Linked DNA regions of Homo sapiens: region 1 is linked to region 2. Evidence: promoter capture Hi-C in human tissues and cell types (Jung and others, 2019). All regions are on one chromosome and are shown on one strand. The core of a region is centred on a gene start or on the middle of the fragment in contact, and the rest is flanking DNA. Distances in the headings are between cores, read along the strand shown.

The links. Contacts are between HindIII fragments. The study calls those that stand out against the background at their distance.
Region 1: a fragment that was not itself captured here is called in contact with the fragment with the promoter of CDC42BPA in region 2 in 1 of the 25 tissues and cell types used here (dorsolateral prefrontal cortex).

The regions. Positions count from the first base shown.
Region 1 is chr1:226,993,501-226,997,977 of GRCh38, reverse strand. CDC42BPA (CDC42 binding protein kinase alpha) reads left to right here. Exons shown (of 37, transcript NM_001394014.1): 36 at 2,998-3,155; 37 at 3,579-4,477. The coding sequence ends at 3,710. Among named protein-coding and RNA genes, the nearest start is that of COQ8A, 55 kb to the right of the region's middle. RefSeq lists silencers at 3,163-3,309, 4,424-4,477 and an enhancer at 4,187-4,477. The HindIII fragment of the contact is 5,082 bases long and covers 1-3,853 here.
Region 2 is chr1:227,317,131-227,321,362 of GRCh38, reverse strand. It overlaps CDC42BPA (CDC42 binding protein kinase alpha), which reads left to right and starts at 2,871. Exons shown (of 37, transcript NM_001394014.1): 1 at 2,871-4,232. The coding sequence starts at 4,181. It overlaps LOC124904531 (a long non-coding RNA gene), which reads right to left and starts at 2,771. Exons shown (of 2, transcript XR_007066911.1): 1 at 2,365-2,771; 2 at 1,302-2,249. The HindIII fragment of the contact is 8,280 bases long and covers 1-4,232 here.

The DNA of each region.
Region 1 (4,477 bases), core at 63-2,562, 320 kb after region 2:
CACACTGGTTCAAGCGGACCTAATACACACCTACAGAACTCTCCACCCCAAATCCACGGAATATACATTCTTCTCAGCACCACATCACACTTATTCTAAAACTGACCACATAATTGGAAGTAAAACACTCCTCACCAAATGCAAAGGAATGGAAATTATAAGTCTCTCAGACCACAGTGCAATCAAATTAGAACTCAGGATTAAGAAACTCACTCAAAACCGCACAACTACTTGGAAACTGAACAACCTGCTCTTGAATGACTACTGGGTAAATAACGAAATGAAGGCAGAAATAAATAAGTTCTTTAAGACCAATGAGAACAAAGACACAACATACCAGAATCTCTTGAGACACAGCTAAAGCAATGTTTAGAGGGAAATTTATAGCACTAAATGCCCACAGGAGAAAGCGGGAAAGATCTAAAATCGACACCCTAACATCACAATTAAAAGAACTAGAGAAGCAAGAGCAAACACATTCAAAAGCTAGCATAAGACAAGAAATAACTAAGATCAGAGCAGAACTGAAGGAGATAGAGACACGAAAAACCCTTCAAAAAATCAGTGATTCCAGGAGCTGGTTTTTTGAAAAGATTAACAAAATAGGCCGCTAGCCAGACTAATAAGAAAAGAGAGAAGAATCAAATAGACATAATAAAAAAATGATAAAGGGGAGATCACCACTGATCCCACAGAAATAGAAACTACCATCAAAGAATACTATAAACACCTCTACAGAAATAAAATAGAAAATCTAGAAGAAATGGATAAATTCCTGGACACATACACCTTCCCAAGTCTAAACCAGGAAGAAGTTGAATCCCTGAATATACCAATAACAAGTTCTGAAATTGAGGCAGTAATTAATAGCCTACCAGCTAAAAAAAGGCAGGACCAGGCAGATTCACAGCCGAATTCTACCAGAGGTACAAAGAGGAGCTGATACCATTCCTTCTGAAACTATTCCAAACAATAGAAAAAGAGGGACTCCTCCCTAACTCATTTTATGAGGCCAGCATCATCCTGATACCAAAACCTAGCAAAGACACAGCAAAAAAAGAAAATTTCAAGCCAATATCCCTGATGAACATTGATGCGAAAATCCTCAATTAAATACTAGCAAACATTCCAGCAGCACATCAAAAAGCTTATCCACCACGATCAAGTCGGCTTCATCCCTGAGATGCAAGACTGGTTCCACATACGCAAGTCAATAAACGTAATCCATCACATAAACAGAACCAGTGACAAAAACCACATGATTATCTCAATAGATGCAGAAAAGGCCTTTGATAAAATTCAACACCTTTATACTAAAAACTCAATAAACTAGGTATTGATGGAACGTATCTCAAAATAATAGCTATTTATGACAAACCCACAGCCAATATCATACCGAATGGGCAAAAGCTGGAAGCATTCCCTTTGAAAACTGCAACCAGACAAGGATGCCCTCTCTCACCACTCCTATTCAACATAGTATTGGAAGTTCTGGCCAGGGCAACCAGACAAGAGAAGGAAATAAAGGGTATTCAGATAGGAAGAGAGGAAGTCAAATTGTCTCTGTCTGCAGGTGACATGATTGTATTAGAAAACCCCTTCATCTCAGTCCAAAATCTCCTTAAGCTGACAAGCAACTTCAGCAAAGTCTCAGGTTACAAAATCAATGTGCAAAAATGACAGGAGGACTTTTAAAGTTAAGTCAGAAACTCTGCAAATTGTTCTGGGATAGGGCTGGGCATTGGTGTTTGTCAAGCTCCATCATACGCTAAACAGTAAACCACCAGTGTTGCTGATCTGCAGTCAGTCAGTTCCAGTGTCGAGGAAATGCCAGCGAGCCTGTGACTGCAGCCCAGGGGCTTCGCAAAGAAGCTGAGGAAGGGAGGTGGAAGGGGGATTACCAAGGACAGAGTCTGCCCAGGCAGGCTCTTGTTCAGTTTATTTATGAACGCTTGTGTATTTTGGTGGTCATTAGATAAATGTGCTGCTTTAAACTATCATTTTTTGACATTTTTCACTGAATTCTTAATGTGAAAAACAATTGAGACATGTTAAACCCGCAAAAAGTTGAAACAAGCACAACCTGTACCTTAGAGTTGTGCTAAAACCTCAACACAGTCTTTTGGACCAATCATCCTAATACTGAAACTCAGCACGATGAAGGCATGTTTAAGCAAAAACCTTGTCATAGTAGGGAATGCTAAGAGCTTTAAATAGGTACTGACAATAGCCCCGAGATTCCCCAGGGTGTTCTGGGTCTTCCCTTTTCTTCCTGTGAATGCTGCTGGTCCACTGTTACCTACCCCAACTCTGAGAACAAAATAGAGAGTGAGTTTGAAGAAAACCTCACTTTTATTTTACATCTCAGGCTCTTTGCCCTGTGAAGTAAAAGTACTTTTATGTTTTCTTTATGGTTTTATGAAAATTTTCTAGAAGATAAGCGATATTTCTTCATTGAGTGGCATGGCCTCTCTCGGGATGGTACAACCGAGCTTCCTCATTTAGCGCATCTGTTTTGAGCCTGCCGTGTGCCATGTTCTGTGCTAGGCCCTGGAGAGGCAAAGACACCTCATCTATTGGGAGAATGACAGGCACATGATGATAACATGACTTCATAAATGCCATGAAAGAGATGTGTGAAAGATGGCTGGGAGCCGTCAGTGGCTGGGAAAGATGTGCAAGGCAGCACCAGGCAGGTGGAGACTTGAGGGATTCTGGGGAATTGTTAACAAGCAGGGCATTGGGGCAGATGGCACAGCCTAGAGAGTGCTCGCTCACCGGGAGTCCCCGTGGCTGGGGTGGACAGGAACAGCGAGTGAGATTGCTGGATTCGGGGTTGAGCTCAGGGCAAAGGTACTACAGTTGGACTTACTGCGCTTCAGGGGAGGAGTGGTCTGGGGCCTGCAAAGGATGGCCTGTCAGCTCAGCAGTCTGTGTGCTTTCTAGAGTATTGTCCCCTCTGCATATGTAAAATTTTGCCTGCATGATGTACTGTAGGGTCATCCGCACAGAATGGCAGCGCATTAAAGAGGGAATTCTCTGGAGGAAGCTACAGTGCCAAGCGGCAGCCCATGCCCTCCCCGTCAGAGGGCTCTTTGTCCTCTGGAGGCATGGACCAAGGAAGTGATGCCCCAGCGAGGGACTTTGACGGAGAGGTGAGTGGGCAGGGTTCCGGAGACGTCATGTATCAGAAAGACTAGGGCATCTTCCCAGGCAATCCCACCACCTTGGGATTGGCCTCAGCTGCAGCAGGGTTCGGGGTCAGGGGCCAGCATTCACTCTTGGCCAGCGGGCAGCTAGGCCAGTCACTCGGGCTGCAAACTGCAGTTTTCCCAGAGGCATTCAGACTTCTGGCTTTTGTGTGAAAATACCATCATCTGTAAAGGCCTACAGAAAGGACGGAGCTTGTATGTTCCGTGCCTCTTCCTCAGCTCATAGAAGGGGCTTTATACCGACAGTGAGGCCGCCCCATGGGGTTATTTGGTCAGGGTGGCTGGAGGGGGCGGTGGTAATCTGAGCCCCTTCTGCCTCCCTTTCTCCCCCTCCTTCTCATTAATGTTTTACTTTGGGCCTTACAGGACTCTGACTCTCCGAGGCATTCCACAGCTTCCAACAGTTCCAACCTAAGCAGCCCCCCAAGCCCAGCTTCACCCCGAAAAACCAAGAGCCTCTCCCTGGAGAGCACTGACCGCGGGAGCTGGGACCCGTGAGCTGCCTCAGCACTGGGACCTCTCGCTCTCCGCTCCCTGCCACTCGCCTCCTCTCACTTTCATCTCTTCCCTCCACCTCGCCTGCTCGGCCTGAAAGCCACCAGGGGCTGGCAGCAGTAGCAGGACAGGGATTCAGGAGTTCTGACGACACGACTCTCAGATCCACGCCCCCAGCCTAACAGCAACAACAAAGACAGACTTTCCGTAGCAGCTTAGATTAACGTTGATTTCATTCCATGCACTTAGAGTTGCTTTCAGTAACATTTTACCCCTACTCCCAAAGGTAGCTTAAATAGACAGATTACACAAATGTAAGTGATAAGAATAAGATTAGACAGATTTTGCTTTCACAGTAGAGTCTCATTATAGTCCTAAAATAGCTCATGGGCTTCTCCGCATCCAGAAGGGAGAATTGGTCCCTGGAGTGGCTCACTAAGCTCTTAATCAGCAAACGCAGTGAGTATCAACCTGATTGTTGCCAGGAAATCCTTATGAATTAAAACAATGCATATTTTACTACAGTACAGAGTTTAAATGAATACATAAATGTAGAAGTACTGAATGTATATATTTAAAAGGAGCCTCTTGTATTCAACAAAAGATGGATGCATATATAAGAGAGATGATTTAATTTAAAGAAATATGTTGTTTCTTGTCTGTAATGTAATGTAAAGGGTGGAAAGGCCTCAAGCTCACATTTGTAGAGAGAGAGCGAGAGAAATCAGAGTTCCCTTTATTGCCCTGTCCTCAAACTGGTCATAGGCTCT
Region 2 (4,232 bases), core at 1,622-4,121:
TTTTTATATACAAGCCCTTGCAGTTGATCTCACTCATGTCAGGAGCCTGACATGAAGACAGGACAGGCATTTGCTGGCATTTTATCCTGGGAGGGTACTAAGCCAAGTCATTCATTTGCAGGGTCAGGATGTGGCTAGGCTAAAAGGAGATGTGGTAAAACATCCTCAGTGTTGCTATACATTAAGCCCTACTGTGGCACGCACCTTGTTTTTGGCTCCGTTCTCCAGCAATGACCCTATAGTTATTCTGAAGTTAGATATACCAAGGTGAGAGTGAGGCTGACTGTTATAAATATTAATTGGTGGATTAATTCTCCTGCTTTTAGCCCTGAATTGGAGGATTAGTTGAAGAGAGCTTGTATTGGGGACTAGGCTTAATGATTTCTGTCCTGCCTTCTTCTTTCCACCTTCCTACCTTCTTGTCTTCTCCTGTCCTCTTTCTTTTCTGAATGGTCAGATTAATTCCCAGCATCTTCATAAAACATTCTCTGATTATTTCAAACAAATTGGGTGTTTGCAGTGGTATACATCTAATCTCCAGGCCCCCAAGCAGAATTTCACAAAGAAGACCTCCTCCAGACTATTTTTCCCCAAAGAATACCCTGCGAGGCAGCCTGTGGCACTCTTGTTTTGCAGGAACACTTCAAGCACTGTACAGCTGCTGGGCTGTGCCTTTCTTTGGCTTAAGACCGGTTTCATTAACAAGCATGTTCACACTTCAACCGGAACATTTAAAATAACACCCGCACAATGTGTTTAGTGTCTAGTTAATTATTAAGTCTCTGAGCTTGAATTATTCAAGCAAAATTGATTGGGTTCAAGCTCCTTCCTTCTCTTTGTGTGTGTGTTTTTTAAAATAAAAATAAATTCTGCTCTCTACTTTCTAAATAATGTGGAAAGGGTTATTTAGCAACCATCAATACCCTGGACTGTGGGTGGTACCCAAGCGCTAATAGAATAGGTAAAGAACTGACAGCTTGACTCTTTTGTTAAAAAAAAAAAAAGTATCTACATCTCATATACTTCCATTGTCAATTAGCATTTAGTGAGACCTAACATGTTTTAGGTTCTCCTTTAAACTTCTTTCTAGTTATTTGTAAGTTGGAAAAGCAGGTATCTTGGAGCCATTTCTTTAGTTAACCGTACTTGAAAAAGCAGAAGAAATTGCTTCCTTCTTTGCTACCGCATCTTATGGTCAAATGAAACTGTTAAAATTGGCTTCACCATTAAAATCCATGTTGTTGAAGAATGTTTGTTGAACTGAAAAAATGTCCATAATATATTGCTAATTGCAAGCAAGAGGCTATAAAACTCTTTTATTATGTATCATTTTTGTTAAAGTGCATAGGAAAAAGACTTGAATAATAAACACCAAAATATTGCTTATTATCTGTGTTAGGATTAAACTTTTCTACTACTTTTAGAATTAGACAACACACACCCATATAAAGATGTCATGGCTGGAAATGACTGACCTTTTGTTTGAATCTAAGTATCATTCATGTCAAGACCGCATTGAAAATAATGCTGTTCTTAAGCCAGGCAAGTGTAGACGTTGTAGATTTCATAAAAGATTCACACTATTTCATGAATCACAACTTGAATCGACTTCTGTTAGCCTTCATTTTACGTCTAGGCCCTCATTTCTAATTCTTCCTCAGCTTCCATATTATCAAGATGTAAGATGCAATTGTGGACATGAACATAGAAACACAACCGCCTCACAGGTGTGGGGAAGGAATATAAAATAATTGTATTTTAGAGAACGACCATAAAGGAGATGGCAATTTTGAGAGAAAGTAACAGAACTGCAATGACCTAGTTTTGTGGTGTTAATTTAAATGTGGCATCTTCCATGAGAATTTTATAAAGGGAGCTCTCCTAAAACCGAGATTCACAAAAACCTGGAAGGGCCCTACAGGGATCAGGTGCCCTAGCTATTCAGCGATTTGCCTTTGCTTCCCTAATTCCTGCATTGTGCCACTGGGTTACAAGTGTGTGTGCGCATGCACACAGGGGTGTAGGTTTGATGACAGTGGTGAACTGCCTTGACTGCCTTCACAGGCTGAATCCCCCGCAGGCAGTAACCATGGCTAGGGAAAAACAGGCAGCCGCGAGGACAGTTCCGGAGGAGACAACACCAGGCTCCCGTAGGGAAACTTTTGGGAATGGAGATGGGGGATTCCATCCTTTGCGTGCAGACCCAAGACTTCGATGGTAGCTCGGACAAGTCTGTCATTGTTTTTGTCCTGGGAAATGACACACGAAGTGCTGTAATTAGACACCTAAGAAACGATTACTCTGGAGTGTGCGCGAACCGAATCTGGGGGGCCGGTGGGGAGCAGGTAAGGGGCTGAAAGGCACCGTCTCCTCCAGCTCTGTCGGAAGCCTAAAGCCCTCTGCTTCTGGGCGCCCTTAACAAACGCGCCAGACAGGTGATGTCTCCGAGGACGAGCAGGAGCCCCCCTTCGCGATCTGCACCAGAAGCCTCGGGGAGCCGGGGCCACGGCGCGGCGGTGGCGCAGTTCCCAGCCTGCGCCCAGTCCCGCCGCAGCTCCCGGCGCGGCCCGGTCATCCCGCCTCCATATGCTCCGCCACCGCCGCCCGGGCCTCCCTCAGCCCTCCCGCAGCTCCGCATTCCACGCTGCGGCAGCCGCAGCCTCGCCGCCTAGGCAGTCCACACCCCTCCCCTCGGGCTGGCGCAGCCACTCGGGCCCCGAGCCCGCGCCCCCTTGGGGGCCTCCGCTGGGCGCGCCGGCCGGACCCCGCCCGGCTTGGCCGCCGGCTGGGGCTGAGGCTCGGGCAGGGCGGGGGCGGGGAGTGGAGGGCGTGTGCGCGCGCGTGTGCCGGGGCCGGGGGGCCAGGCCGCCATATTGGATCCAGACTCGTCCGCAAGCCTCCGCCTCTGTGCGGCGGGACTGGAGGAGCCTCGCTGAGCCCAGGGCGCGAGCGCGAGAGGAGAGGGAAGGCGGGGGAGGGCTGGAAGGGAGAGGAAGGGAGTGGTTGGGAGCCGGGCTGCCGCAGCCTCTAGTCTCCTCAGCCGCGGAAGCGACCCCTCCTCCTGCGCCGGGCCGCCTCCCTCCTCGCTGTGGAAAGATGCCCTTAGCCCAGGGGTGTGAAGAAGGGGGAGAAGTAGCTGCCAGAGCCGCCCGCGCCGCCGCCGCAGCTGCTGCTGCTTGTGTCCTTTGAATTCAGAGAAGCACCCCCCCGCCTGGGGCGTCGGGAGCCTCCGGCGCGGCGGCCCGGTGCGGGTGTCGGGGAGACCGGGCTCTCTGCCCGGCGCGGCGCGGCGCGGCTCGGCCCACGAGCGACCACCGACATGGAGTGGGCTCGGGCGGCCAAGTAGCCGCTTCTCCGGAGCCCGGTGCCAGTGCCGCCCGCAGCCCGCCTTCCACCCCCGGCCGCGCCGCCGGTCAGGCCCTAGGGTGAAGCCGGGAGGAAAATGAAGAGTTTTCACCGGAATCCGTTGAAAATAGGACTGACTGCAAAGCCTTAAAGAAAGAAGGACCTCGGGAGGAGAAACGAAAAGCCGCCTCCGGGCAAGACTTGGCGTGCTCCGAGCCGAGGGGCTGCTTCAGGGACCTCGCCCCCTCCCTTTCCCGCTGGAGAAATTGCCGCTGATGCATTATCCAAGTGGTGGTTGGGAGGATTTGCAGCAACATTTTTGGTTTTCCCTCCCCCTTCTATGCATTCTGTTTTTTTCCTCCCTTTTCTGTTTTTCTTCTTCCCGGGAAGTGAATTGCTGATGCAAATCGGACTTTATTCATTAATGATGCAACCGGATTCGTTTCAGGATTACGTTGCACGAGTTGAATTTTGAATGAAGGAGAAGAGTTTTTTTTTTTTTTTTTAAAGAAGTGTTGACTCTCTAGTTCGTTGTACTTTTAATTATTATTTTATTTAAATATACGACTTAATTGTATTCTTTTAAAAATGCATTAAGTATATATTTTATGGTAATTTACCCTCAAAATATATGTATATGGGTGAAATTGAAGACGCTTCAGTTAAGTGAGGTTACTGGTGTGTTGGATGTTTAATTCAGCACCAGCATTGCATGACAGTTGTTTGAATAACAAGTGGTTTATTTTTAAAACCATACCTTTTAAAATTTAGGTTCAGATAATAGTAAAAGTCATCATAATAATTTAAAGGAAAACCAGCAGAAATCGAAGCAAACATGTCTGGAGAAGTGCGTTTGAGGCAGTTGGAGCAGTTTATTTTGGACGGGC